Linked DNA regions of Homo sapiens: region 2 is linked to region 1. The links are contacts of gene promoters, found by promoter capture Hi-C in blood cells and fetal thymus (Javierre and others, 2016). All regions are on one chromosome and are shown on one strand. Each heading gives the region's core, a stretch centred on a gene start or on the middle of the fragment in contact. The rest is flanking DNA. Distances are from core to core; before and after follow the strand shown.

The links. The method cuts DNA at HindIII sites, captures the fragments that hold promoters and counts their contacts. A CHiCAGO score of 5 or more calls a contact.
Region 2: a contact is called between a fragment that was not itself captured here and the fragment with the promoter of PML in region 1, in 1 of 17 cell types (total CD4 T cells). The highest score is 7.2, in total CD4 T cells.

Annotation. Positions count from the first base shown.
Region 1 is chr15:73,988,898-73,996,638 of GRCh38, forward strand. PML (PML nuclear body scaffold) reads left to right here and starts at 5,819. Exons shown (of 9, transcript NM_033238.3): 1 at 5,819-6,044. The coding sequence starts at 5,916. STOML1 (stomatin like 1) reads right to left here and starts at 3,398. Exons shown (of 7, transcript NM_004809.5): 1 at 3,194-3,398; 2 at 1,454-1,560; 3 at 211-360. The coding sequence starts at 3,326. RefSeq lists enhancers at 1-265, 2,675-2,804, 2,865-2,934, 6,232-6,401 and a silencer at 3,065-3,624. The HindIII fragment of the contact is 1,596 bases long and covers 4,479-6,074 here.
Region 2 is chr15:75,201,393-75,209,133 of GRCh38, forward strand. It overlaps C15orf39 (chromosome 15 open reading frame 39), which reads left to right and starts at 490. Exons shown (of 3, transcript NM_015492.5): 1 at 490-667; 2 at 4,607-7,432. The coding sequence starts at 4,657. RefSeq lists enhancers at 93-815, 5,883-5,932 and silencers at 297-1,456, 1,577-1,626. The HindIII fragment of the contact is 6,893 bases long and covers 129-7,021 here.

The DNA of each region.
Region 1 (7,741 bases), core at 4,569-7,068:
GCAGCTAGCTCCTCAAGGGCAAATGGTGTCACCAAGTATGTAGGGTTAGGTGTATGAAGCAAGGATGTCCTCCTAGCTTCCATCAATTTTCTGGTCTCTTCTTCCCCCTTCCCCCCTCAGATGGTGACTCACAGGCTGAGGTCCTGGCACCACAGTACATTCTGGACAGGCCCCCAGTTCCTCTGTCAAGGCAGCTGAGAAGCCCCTCACCTTGCAGGGAGGGACGTTGAAGGCTCGTGTCCTCAGATCCACCCTCTGAAAGGAGTCAATGAAGGGCAAGAGCAGAACCATGCCAGGTCCCTGGGGGGTGCGGATCCGGCCCAGGCGGAACACAATCATCCGCTCGTAGGTGGGCACAATCTGTCCACAATGGCAAGGGAAAGAGTTGAAAGTGGTCAGCCTAGGCTGGCCAATGCTGTCTGCCTAGGTCCCTTCCTCACTTCTCTCCTCCTCACCTGGGTCACAGTTAGGTATCCCTAGCACTGTTTCCAGATGAGAAAACCAAGGCTCAGGGAAGCTAAGTGACTGCTCAAAAATTGCATAGCCCTAAGTGAAATAGTGAAGATTTGAATGCAGTTCTGAATAACTCCAAAGGCCATGTGTCTTAACTACTGCACTGTATTGACTTGATCCTTAGAGAAACTTTTCATCTCTGTGGTCTGAAGTTAGACATGACTCATACCAGGAAACTGTCTGTCCTTGGATTAGTTAGGAGAAAAGGCTCGGCTGCCCTAACAGCACCCCCGGGGAAAGGGCTTTGTCAACTTTAGGTCCCTGGACCTCCTAGAGAAGTAGTGATGTCCAAATTGAGAAATGAAGGCCCAGAGAGGCAAAGAAACCTGTTCAAGGTCACATGGCATTTGTTTCTGTGGCAGTTTTAGAACTAGGATATAAGGCCATTTAAGGACCCCCTTGCAGACCACACCAAACCCAGAGGTTTTCTAGAGAGGGACTGTTGCCTAGGGCTACACAAAGGGCAAGGCCTCCTTGGGCTTCCACCTTCCCCCAGCTTTCACGTGCGATGCTGAACTATAGCTCCATGGTTCATCCTTTTCCCACTGTACCACCCCTTATGGAAAATGAGGCCTGAATTCCTATTATGCACTACCAGCTGGGCTAAGTTGGGTGTTTTCATTTCTAATTTATTCTAACCCAAAGAGAAGATAATTTGGCAAAGACATCTGCGTGTACCTTAAAGCCAGTGTCCAGATCCCAGGACTTAGGAGTTTGGGACTTGCTTCTACCCCCTACTGGCTCCCAGTATGACTTTAGACAAGCCCAAGCCTTAGTTTCCTCCCCTGACCAATGTGAATGAATGGTTCTTGCCTAGCCCATTACACAAAGGGGTAATAATATTTAGGGAAAGGGGACAGAGGATAGGCAAATTTATTCATCAATGCCAAAGCTCTCAGTGTGGCCCAACCACCCTGGGGGCTGACCCAGCCAGCCTTACCTTCAGGGCAAACCAGCCAGAAATGGGGAAGGTGACCAACAGCAGCAAGAACCCCAGGAAACTGATGAGGCCATGACAGAGGCAGGAGGGCCAGCTCTGGGGTACATCTGCAGGTGAGAGCAGAGGTGGTCAACTGGACCTGCACGACAGCTGCCAAGCGGAGTGAACTTGGGCAAGTGTACCTTACGCCCACCTTCCCCTCGAGAGGCTCCTTCCTTCTCAGGGCTCTCAATCTGGCTCCTTGCCTAATATTCCCGTATCTTTGGGCAGCTGCAAGTTAGGGTCTGTTCCCTCCTCCCATACATCAACACTCATTTGTCCCAAGTCCAACAACCCTCACAAGGCCTTATTCTCTGCTAGGCAACAGCCATTCAATCTCAGAATCCAGTCCGCGTGATGATGCTCTCCTCACTGGACTGAGTAGGGGTCAATCCTCTCGTTTAATTTATATTGCCTACCCATACCTGGCATGGAGCCAGGAGCACCTGGGCATCTGTAAACATGCACTGAATACTGCTGGCAAAACACATTCCTCCTATACCATCAGCCCCAGAAGTGTGCTTTCCAGGAGTCCTTATGAAGATGATGCCTTAGCCTACAGGGATAAATCATAAATAGCTTATCAACGGGAGCCACAGATGAGGAATTAGATTATTATTTTCTATTCCACACCCAACTTTAATGCCTTAATGACCATTAAAAAATGCCTATTTCACGAGATGGCGCCACTGCACTCCAGCCTGGGGGACAGAGCGAGACTCCATCTCAAAAAAACAACAAACAACAAAAAACAAAAACAAAAAAAAACCCTGCCTATTTCAATTCAAGAAAATTGTTAGGGGTCGGGGTCAGGGGCAGGGCTAGAAAGATGAGGCTTATCCAAGCCAAATGTCCTGGCCCCTGGAGATTCAGGAGCCCAAGTTGGGAGCAAAGCCGAGACAGCTCCAGAATCTGGGATGAGGTTATTTGCCGCTTTCCTCCCAACCCTGGACAGGAAGCAGTCGGGAGCCCTGCTCCATTCTTCCAGGAAGCCCTGCCCTCTGGGCTAAGCCCCAGAGCACTGAGGCTCCACTTTGTGCCTGGCTCTGATCCACCAGGCCTCTCAAGAGACTTCTGGATAGGGAGAGCTTTCAGGACAGGAAGGCCAGGGAGGGATCAAATCCAAGGTTAGGCGGTTAGGCTGAACAGCGTGGGATCTGGCCTGTAGGCCAAAGGAGCCACAGAAGACTTTGAGGGCAAGACAGAAGCAGGGCAGATCCAACAGGCAGCTGAGGACCTGTCATTTTGGCCTGCACATCCAGGAGATGCCTAGTTCCCGGGCTTCTAGAGGTGCCCCCTAGGGCGAAAATTCTTCCATTTCCCTGCAGCAGGTGCCTTTAGGGTGCTGGTGGCCTCCTCTGCCTAGACCTCGGTTTCTTCTATGCGAAATAGAAACCTGAAACGTCTTCCCAGGCCTAAAGGGCTGATAAGAGCCGAGGACAAATGTGGTGAGGTGAGGTTTTGGAAGATAGGAGCAACGCTGGCTGGCTCTGGGGCCAAAGCCCCATGACCCTAGGGAGGGCGGATCGGCGCTAGCACCAGGCGCCGGGTCCAGCCCCCTCTCCACATCGTATCCCTTTCTCAGTCCCCCCTCGTAGGGTGCGACGGCACCGGGCCGGCCGACTCCTCGGAGGCAGAGATTCGGGCCTGGGGGTTGCCGGCCGGTCCCCCCCGGCTCCGCCGTGCCAGGCGGCCACTCACCGGCCCCTGTCCCCACGCCGCCCCGCTCCGGGGACAAGCAGCCCTTCTGCGAGCCCAGAAAGCCGAAGCTCGACTGCTGGAAGCGGTCAAAATCACCCAGGGGCAGCGCCCGGTACCCAGACCTGCCGAGCATGGCTTTTGACAGGAGACACGCCCCGCGCCTCCGCGCGGCGCCCTCCCTGGCCAGTGGGCCCTACGCGGCCCCGCCCTCCTGGCTGCTGCTTCCGGCTTCACCCGCGCGGCCACCCGCGGCGGCGCGGGCGCAGGAAGAGGAGGCCGGCCGGGGCCCGCTTCCGCCGTCGCATGGCTCCCCCTGCGCTGGGAGGACCGAACTGCAGCCCAGGGCTACTGGGTGTGATCGGCGTTCCTCGGACCCCGCTGGGGTCATCGCCTCCTCCCCTCTTCTCCTACTCAGCCCTAGAAAAGCTGGAGGGGAAGCTGGGCACGGTGGCTCACTCCTATAATCCATCAATTTGGGAGACTCAGGCAGGAGGATCGCTTGAGGCCAGGAATTCAGGACCATCCTGAGCAACATAGTGAGAGCCCATCTCTACAAAAAATTTTTAAAAATTAGCCTGGCGTGGGATGCCTGCCTGTGGTCCCAGCCACTTGGGAGGCTGAGGCGGGAGGATCTCTTGAGTCCAGGAGTTTGAGGCTGCAGTGAGCTATGATCGTGCCACTGCACTGCAGTCGGAGCGAGAGAGCAAGATCTCATCAGGGTTTACAGGAAGCCAATCTTCTCCAGGATCAAGGACATGCTATATCAGCCTTCTCAGCACTCCTTCTCTCACACTGGAGGCAGGACATGCCATATCTGGACTTTGGGTTTCTCTGGGACATAGTCTGCAAATTATTCCTCTTTGTGAACCCACAGCCCAGCAAGCAGGGACTGGCATAGGGCAGGTCTCAATACTTATTTGTTAAGTAATGGCCTGGCCAGGTCACCGTGATCAAGGTGGAGTAGGAAGGCCTGAACTTTGGCACAAAAAGAAAGAAGTTTCACATGCAGACTTCGGGGAGCATGGGAGTGTAAGGAAGAAGGGGATAGCACAGAGCTACATGAGGGCAGGGGCCCCAGAGCACCACAGAGGTGAGGCCCTCAGTCCTGCAGGTCCAGAAAGAGCATGCCCCTTGATCCAGGTACCTGGAATTAACTTGCCTCTCCAGGGCTTGAGAAAACCTGAATGCAACTCGTGAATTTCCTTTGAGAAGTGTTAACTTCCAACAGGACTTTGGGGTAGTCTGGGAGCAGGCTATCTTCCAAAGCAAGCAAAGAAATGAATAAAGCTTCCCCAGCTCTGCCTCCTCAGCCAATCGCCTCTGGCCTCCGAAGCCCCATCCTGCCATAGCCCACTTCCAGGTCCCTTGTGCAGATGGCTGCCCACCATATTTGGCTTTCATGGACTGATTCTCTAAAGGCCTGGGAGTACTGACCAGGCTGGAGGGAAGGGCAGGCTCCTGAGGCCTTACAGTCCCTAGGAAGTTGCGTATCTGCCCAACCCCTGCTCTCCACCCTGCAGACTGTAAGGTTTACAAGAGCCAGGCCCTATCATCATCCTTTCTAGTCTGTTTCTAAGTTGGAACAGAGTACGGAATGGGTACACAGGAGCCAGCACAGTGGTTGCGATGGTTTAAGTTTGAAGCCGGGGCGCTGACCCAGTGAGGTCACCTGGAACTGTGCCCCTTTCCCCTTACCAGCTGGGAGTCTGACATGCTTTTCCATTGGCGAAGACCTAGCTGGCTCTCCCCTCACCCTCTTCATACCCGCTCTCCAGCTCTCCCCCTCCCTCCTGCCCCCACCACCTCAGATCCACCAGCCTTTCCAGCTGTCACTCAAGGCATCATCCTGCTCCCTCACCTCCAGTCACTGGCTTCCCAGGATCTCTGAATCAAGTCCCTCCTCTGCATCCCACAGCCACTGTCCTAGACCAGGGCACCTGCTCCTAGGTTGTCAGAGTGACTGTCCCATCATGCACAGCTGATCGTGTTGTTCCCTGGTTCCAAATCCTTCAGCAACTTCCCATCACTCACAGAACTGGTTCAATCTCCTCAGCTAGGATCTTGTCCTAGCACACTCCTTGGGTATCATTTCTCATGAATTCCCTCTTAAATCTGAAAATGGCCAAAATTAGTTCCCAAACAGGCTTTTGCAAGAGCTATCTTTTCTGTTTCAAGTGTCCCCCGTACCCCACCACCTACAACCCTAAATCCCTGGTGAATTTCCACTGCTTTTGCAGGTCCCAGCTGTGGGCTCTCCTTTCCAGAATGTCTCCGTTTGCAGGCTTGCTCTTCCATTACATCTACGGCTCTTAGAAAGCAGGGGCTGCGTGTGGCTCATCTTTGTACGCCCAGCTCCCGGCAGGACGTGGCACGAAGCAGTGCCAGTGTGAACGGATGAATGGATCAAAGCCGGGAGCAGGGCTGCCCCCCTGCAGCTCTGCCCTACCTCTCCCGCTTTACCGTAAGTCAGCGGTAGGTCTGCAGCTCTCCGCCTCTACCTCCTCCCCGCTCTGGGCGTGTCTTTAAAACCCACAGTCGGCCTCTCTGCCCCCTAGAACCGCCCCCAGCTTCTGTCTCACTTCCTCTCCAGAGGCGGGCCCTGAGCCGGCACCTCCCCTTTCGGACAGCTCAAGGGACTCAGCCAACTGGCTCACGCCTCCCCTTCAGCTTCTCTTCACGCACTCCAAGATCTAAACCGAGAATCGAAACTAAGCTGGGGTCCATGGAGCCTGCACCCGCCCGATCTCCGAGGCCCCAGCAGGACCCCGCCCGGCCCCAGGAGCCCACCATGCCTCCCCCCGAGACCCCCTCTGAAGGCCGCCAGCCCAGCCCCAGCCCCAGCCCTACAGAGGTACTATTGGGTTAGGGGATGATGGGGTTAAGCTTTGTTGGTTTGCTGTGGTGGGGAGAGGCGGGAAGAGAGGGTCTAACGGAGGATTTGGTCAAGTACCCTAGAGAGTGACACAAAGCGGGAAGTCCAGACACCAGGGTCCTGACCGTCTCGGGTGGGGCAGGGAAGGGAGGGTAGGATAGAGTAGAAAAGAGGACACGGAGGAGTTGGGGCGGCCTCGCTGGGCTGCGGTTTCTCCACTGAGCAGTTGGGCAAGGTGAGAAGGGTCAGTGGCCTCCGGGCCTGGGCCCTTCCGCCCACCCTCGAGCCCTGCCTCAACTTTGCCTCAGATGCAGGACTTCAGATTAGGGAGGATGGAGGTAGTACCCCTGTTGCGCTGGCCTGGAGCCAGGGGCATGTCCCAGGCACGGCAAAACTAAAACCAACTTCCCAGATCCGAGGTGAGAAACTGGCTCAGACTGAAGAGGTATCTTTGCCAAGGCCTCCCAGCTCATGTGGTTTCTGCTTAAGGAAGCCTCCCCAACGAACCCTTCTCTTGCCACACCTTTCCTGCCCACCTCCCACCTCCCCCGACAAAGGAACTACTTGGGTTTCTTGCTCTGCTGCCTTTCAGGCCCTTTTACTCCCCTTCATGAAAGTACAGAGGACACCGTATTACAGTAACTTTTATAAACATTATTACAACTAAGAATAACATTACTTAACAATACTAGGTAACATTTATGAGCACTTCAAATGTGCCAGGTACTGTATTAAGCACTTTGGTTTTTTTTTGTTGTTGTTTGTTTGTTTTGCTTTGTTTTTTGTTTGTTTGTTTATCTGTTTGTTTTTGAGACGGAGTCTCACACTGTCGCCCAGGCTGGAGTGCAATGGTGCGATCTCGGCTCACTGCAACCTCCTCCTTCCGGGTTCACGCCATTCTCCTGCCTCAGCCTCCCGAGTAGCTGGGATTACAGGCCACGCCACCATACCTGGCTATTTTTTATATTTTTAGTAGAGATGGGGTTTCACTATGTTGGCCAGATTGGTCTCTAACTCCTGACCTCGTGATCCACCCACCTCGGCCTCCCAAAGTGCTGGGATTACAGGCATGAGCCACCATGCCCGGCCTGTTTTTGTATTTTACAAAATGTGGTAAAATATACCTAATGGATAAGTTCCTATGTTAACCATTTATAAGTGTACCATTCAGTGGCATTAAGTAGATTCACAATATTGTGTAACCATCACCACCATCTATTTCCAGAACTTTTTCATTACTCCAGAAACTCTGTACTCTTTAAACCATAGGGGAGGGAAAGATGGCTTGCCTCCACCCTTCTAGTTTCCTTGGCTGGGCTATGAATTAAATAGCCTATGAATTAAATAGTCATAAAATAGATTACCAGCGGAAAACCCATATTTAATTACATATGTATACTCAGGAGTCCCACAATATATGAGACTCAAAGAAAGGTCAGATGATTGAAGCCTGTATAACATCCTGAGCTACGGAAAAGAGCTTGGAGCTTCTGGGTGATGGTGATAACACAAGTTATGGGAGGGTGAGGAGAGGAGCTGTTTGGTGAATAGAGGTTGTCTTGCTATGTAGATTAAAAGTTCTTAGATAATAAAAGTTGTCTGGAGCAGCCCTCTTTTAATATAGATCATTTTACTAATGTAGATTTTCTTTTAAGATATAAATGCCTTTCTTTTTT
Region 2 (7,741 bases), core at 2,325-4,824, 1.2 Mb after region 1:
CCTCATTGACTACAACGAAATGAGGGGACAGATCAAGGAGCCCTTCTCCAGCCCCCTAATACACTAGTGCTGGACAGGGGAATGCCGGCACCTACTGTGTGCCAGATATTTGCAAACACCCTTTTCCAAGCTTACACCGCCACCGCTATGAGGAAGACAGAATTCCACTTTTGCAAATAAGGAAACTGAAGCTCAGCGAGGTCAAGCGGCAGGCGCAAGGTCACATCGCAGCAAGTGGCAGTGAATGAACGATCTAAGGGAGCGACTGAGGGCGCGTGACGGGCCCGCCGGGCACTGGTTCGTGGAGCGTGGCGGTTACGGGCGGTGCACAGCGCCCGCAGCCCGCTCCTAGCGAGCTGGCCCCACGCGGGCCCTCCGCACCCGCTGCCCACAGGAGCGCAGGCTCCCAGAGGCGGGGCCGGGCTCTTCCCCAACCCTGCGAGTCGCCCCGCCCCCGCCCCGCCCCCAGCCCGCCCCGCCCGGGACCGCAGACGGCGCCCAGCGGCGGCGCGAACGGCAGCTAGGAGGGTTGCTCCGGGCTTGGTGCTCACTGCGACTTCCCGCGCAGGGCCCGGTCGGACTAGGACCCGCGGCCTGAGAGACGCTGGAGGATGCGGACGCGGAGGCCGCCTGGGGTAGCGGCGGCGGGAGTCCTGGCGCTCTGCAGGTAGGAGCTCGCCCGCTCGGCGGGCGCGGAAACTTGGGCCGAGTTTGCGGGCGGCGCGTGGAGAAGGGGCGGGTGGCGCTGCCCCAGGGCGCCCCTACCGGCCGGCCCGGGGACTGAGGGAGCCGCGCCTGGGCCGAGGGGCTGCGGCTTCTGGCTGCCGCCGGCCCCCCGCGAACGGGCTGCGGGGCAGGGGTGGCGCTGCTGCTCCGACTTTCCCCGGACTTCGAGGCTCCCGGGACCTGGTAGCGCTCTGGGTCTCCGGCGGAGAACAGGCGCCTAATCTGGCGAGAAGGAACTCAGGCCGAGCCCTCCGGCCTCCCGCAGGACCCTGTCACGTGGATTGCTGGGGGATGGCGTTGAGGAGGAGGTATGGGGACAAGGGGGCACTGGAGGGCTGGGCCTGGGGGCGCCGGGCGCTGAGGCACCGCGGGGCCCTGGACGCGCCCTGCTGGGATGGGACGGCCCTGCGGTTTTCTCGCCACCTCTTGACTCACCCCTCTGGCCTCAGCCCAGGCTGGCAGGATCGCCCTGAGGCGGAGGCTGCCCGGACCCTGTCGCCGGGCCGCCCCTGTTCCGGGACCTCCCGCCGGTCCGCGGGCGTCGGTGTGGGGCTGGGTGCGCGGGCCTGCCTGCGTGCACACGTATGCCCGGGGCCCGAGCGAGGGGAGAGCGCAGTTCTGGAATGGCGTGTGTGCAGATGTGGGCCATGCACGTACGTGCAGGCACGGGTTTGCATGCGTGGCGGCGGCCTGTGTGTCAGCCTGCTGGATGCACGTGCGTCTCGGCGCCGCCGGGAGGGGCTTGGGGACACCCGGAAGCCCGCCAGGTCGGGTGCGGCGGCAGCCTCTAAGCGAAATCGGCTGTGGGCCCTAGGCACCCGAGTTATGTTCAGGGCGGGTAGGGGAAAGGGGATAGAGACCGATCCCGTTCGCTTTCCCCTCCACTGGAGACTTTGGGCTGCCCCAGGTTGGGTTGTAGCGTCTGGAGAGCCCAGAGCCTCAGGTAGGGAAGGTGGGAGATGGGAGAACACTCGGCGAGGCCCGATCCAGCCCTCCGGGAGAATCCAGATGCTGGCCACAATTGGGCAGGAATCGCGCTCTTCTTCCTGGTCTTTGCCATCGGCCATCCCGAGGCCCCTAGAAGGTGAAAGTGGGAACAGAGAGCTGTTTCCTTTCCCACTGCGTAAGGCAGGGGCGGTGCTGCGGTGGTGGGCTCTTCTCCGGGACCCTGGCCTGGGTGCTGGCTGAGTGACGTTGGAGCTTGGCAGAGAGGATCAACAGAGCTGCCTCTCAAGGATGATCTGAGCCTGCTCCCTGGGCACCTGCCCTTTCCGAGAGCTTGCTTGCCTCAGTATGGGTCAGGGAAGGAGGCACCTACATTTTGGCAACTGTCTTGAGTGGAGGAGTCGTCTCCCTTGAGAGAGTGTATCCTGGGCTTTCCACCTCCTACTGGCAGGAGATCAGGTCATTCCCACACCCCTAAGAGTTCTCTGTTGGCTCCCTGAAGCCGCCACCCCTCCCACAAAGACTCCTGAGGGTCCCAGGTGGTTTCCTGTCTATTGACTGGGTCCCAGATAGGGGCCTCAAGAAGTCTCCAGAGCAAAGGGTATTCCATGGGCTGAGACCCAGGAGAGAGGGACTCCTGGGGTGGGGGTGGGGACCCAGCAGACCCCAAGAAGCATGTGGGGGAGGTGAGACCAAAGTCAGTACTTAACCCAGAGTGTCCCAAGGGTGGAGGTGGGGAGGATCCACACTTCAAAACCCTACAGTTCCTTCTCACAGCATTGCTGTGGAGTGAGATGGGGGCTTTCACCCCTCGATAGCAGGTTTCTATCATAGGACACTGCTGTTGGGACTGTCACCTGTGTCCTAATGGCCCCTCTGTGTCTTCTCTAGGCTGGCCTGAGGTGTGGGGTTCTGTCCAGGAGATGAACCAGCTTGCTTTCTGGGTCTGCCTTGGTGGAAGTGGGCATTGGCCCCCACACTAGCCTTGTGTTTTCTAACCCCAAAATGTGCCGGTCTAACTCAGCCTGTGGCTGTCATTGGCTCCAACCAGAAGAGGCAAGGAGAGGGCTGGTCCTTGCTTGCCAGTCACTGAAACCTGTGACACTTTGCCCTAATCATAGCAAGATTGAGCTAGGTGGTCCTTTCTAAGCTACTGAGAGTTTCCAGGAATAGGGTGCTGGCTGGGGGAGGTAGAGGTAGGTCAGTGTGGCCCCAGAAGACAGGCTTCAGATGAGCCCCTAACGGGTTACTGGGTGCCTGCTGCCCTGAGGGGCCTCAGTCCCCATCCTTCCTTGGTCTTGTCTTAGAGCTTTGTCTTTTTTCAGCACATAGTTTTTCCATCAATACAATGGGAGTAGTGGCTAAGTAGCACTCTGGCCCCTGGGGCCTCCCTCCCTGGACTTTTTTCTTTTCTTTTCTTTTCTTTTTTTTTGTTTTGTTTTTTGTTTTTTGTGTTTTTTTGAGGTGGAGTCTCACTCTGCTGCCCAGGCTGGAAGTGCAGTAGCACAATCTTGGCTCACTGCAACCTCTGCCTCCTGAGTTCACGCAATTCTCCTGCCTCAGCCTTCAGCGTAGCTGGGATTACAGGCATGCACAACCATGCCTGGCTAATTTTTTTGTATTTTTAGTAGAGACAGCGTTTCACCATGTTGGTCAGGTTGGTCTTGAACTCCTGACCTCAAATGATCCGCACACCTCGGCTTCCCAAAGTGCTGGGATTACAGGTGTGAGCCACAGCACCTAGCCACCTCCCTGGACTTTCACACACGCCCCTGACGCTGTCTTGGCCCCACCCTGCCATGTGCCTAGGAATCGCCATCTGCAGCTTGGGGGCTGGGGGTGGATCCAGGCTCCTCATGCTCTGGGACCTTCCTGCTGGTGCTGCAGCACCATCTGCTGGGCTGCCCTGACTCCTGCGGAGGGGGAGGAGTGGGGCGAGAGGGGTGTGGCTTGTACAGACTGATGTCCCCAGTTACCTCTCCTAGGGGACTGCTCTCCAGAGCCAAGTCCAGTATCTCAGCATTGGCTTTGGGCCTAGGGACCTGGGCTGGAGGCCCGACTCTGCCATTTTTGACAAGATCAGCAGGTCAGAGGAGTGTCACAAGAAATCTGTGAATTTGTAGACAATACTCAGATTCCATGTTTTGGCTGCAGTGGGCATCACTGTGGCATCTTGGAATAGGACCCTGTGGTGGGAGGCAGGAGGCCTGCTTCTCGTTGTGTCTATTTCATTGGTGACTTTGGGATGAATGGGTCTCCTCATCTGTATATGAGGGGGTGGCGGCAGGGTATGTCAAGTGACCCTGAGACCCAGTGCCCCTACAAATTCTGAAATCCCAAGAAGGAGGGGATCTTGGGAGTTGTATGGAGGAAAATCGAACAGAAGGGGCTCCTGGAGTGGGGATGGGTGGGGGTTCTGTGTAGAATAATTCATTAAACAAAGGGTTCTGCAGCTTAAAATATACGAGTTGGGGTCAGGAGCAGTAGGTGGTTCATGCCTGTGATTTCAGCATTTTGGGAGGCCAAGATGGGAGGATCACATGAGTCCAGGAGTTCAAGACCAGCCTGGGTAACATAGTAAGACCCTGTTTCTACATAAAATACTAAAATGAGCCGGGTGTGGTAGCAGGCACCTGTGGTCCCAGCAACCTGGGAGTTGGGAGAATCACTTGAGCCCAGGAGGTTGAGACTGCGGTGAGCCAAGTTCATGTCATTGCACTCCAGCCCGGGCAACAGAGTGAGACCCTGCCTCAAAAAATACATACACGAGTTGGAAACCTCTGTCACGTGGCTCATGCACTCACAGTCTTAACTGAGCATCATTTAAGCGCCAGGTTCTTAGGTGTAGCCGTGAGCTGATGAGAGCAGCAGCCCTCTGTTGCTTTGCCTGTAGCCTGTTTTCCTGACAGCCCCTGCCTTTCTCTCTCTATCCCAGGTCAGAAGTTGAGTAGCAGGGGCCTAGGAGGGCTCGAAGCCTTCACAGCGATGGCAGAGAAGCGACCCCTGAGAACCCTGGGGCCTGTGATGTATGGCAAGCTGCCCCGCTTAGAGACAGACTCCGGGCTCGAGCACAGCCTGCCCCACTCTGTTGGTAACCAGGATCCCTGCACCTACAAGGGGTCCTACTTCTCCTGCCCCATGGCAGGTACTCCTAAGGCCGAGTCTGAGCAGTTGGCGTCCTGGACCCCATACCCACCCTTGTACTCTACCGGTATGGCAGGACCCCCACTTCAGGCAGACAACCTGCTGACCAACTGCCTGTTCTACCGCTCGCCAGCAGAAGGCCCTGAGAAGATGCAGGACTCCAGCCCTGTTGAGCTCCTGCCCTTCAGTCCCCAGGCTCACTCCTACCCAGGCCCACCACTGGCAGCACCCAAACCTGTCTACCGCAACCCTCTGTGCTATGGGCTCTCAACTTGTCTGGGGGAAGGAGCAGTGAAGAGGCCACTGGATGTTGACTGGACTCTGGCGACTGGGCCCCTGTTGCCCTCAGCTGACCCACCCTGCTCTCTGGCCCCAGCTCCTAGCAAGGGCCAGACTCTGGATGGCACCTTCTTGCGGGGGGTGCCAGCTGAGGGGTCCAGTAAAGACTCCTCAGGGAGCTTCTCCCCATGCCAGCCCTTCCTGGAGAAATATCAGACCATCCACAGCACGGGCTTCCTGGCCTCCAGGTACACAGGTCCTTACCCTAGGAACTCCAAGCAAGCAATGTCTGAGGGGCCCTCAAGTCCTTGGACCCAGCTGGCCCAGCCCCTGGGGCCACCCTGTCAGGACACCGGGCCCACCCACTACCCACCACCCCACCACCCACCACCCCACCCTCCACAGGCCCTGCCTTGCCCTCCAGCCTGTCGCCACCCAGAGAAGCAGGGCAGCTACAGCCCAGCACTCCCACTGCAGCCTCTGGGGGGCCACAAGGGGACCGGGTACCAGGCTGGTGGGCTGGGCAGCCCCTACCTGAGGCAGCAGGCAGCCCAGGCACCTTACATTCCCCCACTGGGGCTGGACGCTTACCCCTACCCCTCTGCCCCTCTCCCAGCACCCTCTCCAGGCCTCAAGCTGGAGCCGCCTCTCACTCCACGGTGCCCATTGGACTTTGCCCCCCAGACACTGAGTTTTCCTTATGCCCGGGATGACCTCTCTCTCTATGGAGCATCCCCTGGGCTTGGAGGGACACCACCTTCCCAGAACAATGTGCGGGCTGTGCCACAGCCTGGTGCCTTCCAGAGGGCATGCCAGCCTTTGCCAGCGAGCCAGCCCTGCTCAGAGCCTGTGAGGCCTGCACAGGAAGCCGAAGAGAAGACCTGGCTGCCCAGCTGCAGGAAAGAGAAGCTCCAGCCCCGGCTCAGTGAGCACTCTGGGCCGCCCATCGTCATCCGAGACAGTCCAGTTCCCTGTACCCCCCCAGCACTGCCCCCCTGTGCCCGGGAGTGCCAGTCTCTTCCACAGAAGGAGGGCGCAAGGCCACCCAGCTCTCCACCAATGCCTGTCATTGACAATGTCTTCAGCCTGGCCCCCTACCGTGACTATCTGGATGTGCCGGCACCCGAGGCCACAACTGAGCCTGACTCTGCCACAGCTGAGCCTGACTCAGCCCCAGCCACCAGTGAAGGTCAGGACAAAGGCTGCAGGGGGACCCTGCCTGCCCAGGAGGGCCCCTCAGGGAGTAAACCCCTAAGGGGCTCACTTAAGGAGGAGGTAGCCCTGGATTTGAGTGTGAGGAAGCCCACAGCAGAGGCCTCCCCTGTCAAGGCTTCCCGTTCTGTGGAGCATGCCAAGCCTACTGCAGCCATGGATGTGCCAGATGTGGGCAACATGGTGTCAGATCTGCCAGGCCTGAAAAAGATAGACACAGAAGCACCAGGCTTGCCTGGGGTGCCAGTGACCACAGATGCCATGCCAAGGACCAACTTCCACAGCTCTGTGGCCTTCATGTTCCGAAAGTTCAAGATCCTCCGTCCGGCACCTTTGCCTGCAGCCGTGGTCCCGTCCACGCCCACCTCAGCTCCTGCTCCCACACAGCCTGCACCCACCCCCACATCTGGGCCCATTGGACTGCGGATTCTCGCTCAACAGCCCTTGTCTGTGACCTGCTTCAGCCTGGCACTGCCCAGCCCTCCAGCCGTAGCTGTGGCCTCCCCTGCCCCTGCTCCAGCTCCATCCCCTGCTCCGGCTCGAGCTCAGGCTCCAGCTTCAGCCCGGGATCCAGCTCCAGCTCCAGCTCCAGTTGCAGGCCCTGCTCCAGCATCTACTTCAGCCCCAGGGGACTCCCTGGAGCAGCATTTTACAGGACTACATGCGTCCCTGTGTGATGCTATTTCTGGCTCCGTCGCCCACTCTCCTCCAGAGAAGCTTCGCGAGTGGCTAGAGACGGCTGGGCCCTGGGGCCAGGCTGCGTGGCAGGACTGCCAGGGTGTGCAGGGGCTGCTGGCCAAGCTGCTGTCTCAGCTGCAGCGCTTCGATCGCACCCACCGGTGCCCCTTCCCCCATGTGGTGCGAGCTGGCGCCATCTTCGTGCCCATTCACCTGGTGAAGGAGCGGCTCTTCCCTCGGCTGCCACCCGCTTCTGTGGACCATGTGCTGCAGGAGCATCGTGTGGAGCTGCGGCCCACCACGCTGTCGGAGGAGCGGGCACTGCGGGAGCTCGCCCTGCCAGGCTGCACCTCACGCATGCTGAAGTTACTGGCGCTGCGCCAGCTGCCGGACATTTACCCCGACCTTCTCGGCCTGCAGTGGCGCGACTGTGTACGCCGCCAGCTGGGTGAGCATGGGGCAGCCCCAGTGGCCACCGGAGCTGTGTGAGCAAGTGACAGGTGTGTGTGCTGTGTGAGTGCGTCACAGCTGGGGCTGAGTGATTCCAAGGACTCCTGCCCGGGTAGGGGGCTTTAGGATGAGCTCTAGGTACCCCCACCCCTTGACCCTCCAGACAATCAGTGAGCACCTTCATAGCCTCTTTTGTAGGCTTCTGAACATGCCAGCTGCTCTGTCCCCATGGAAACTCCTCGGCCTCCCCTGGTGCTGCACCTTCTTGGATTCCCTCCTCCTCTGCCTGTGCCTTCTCCATCTTTGG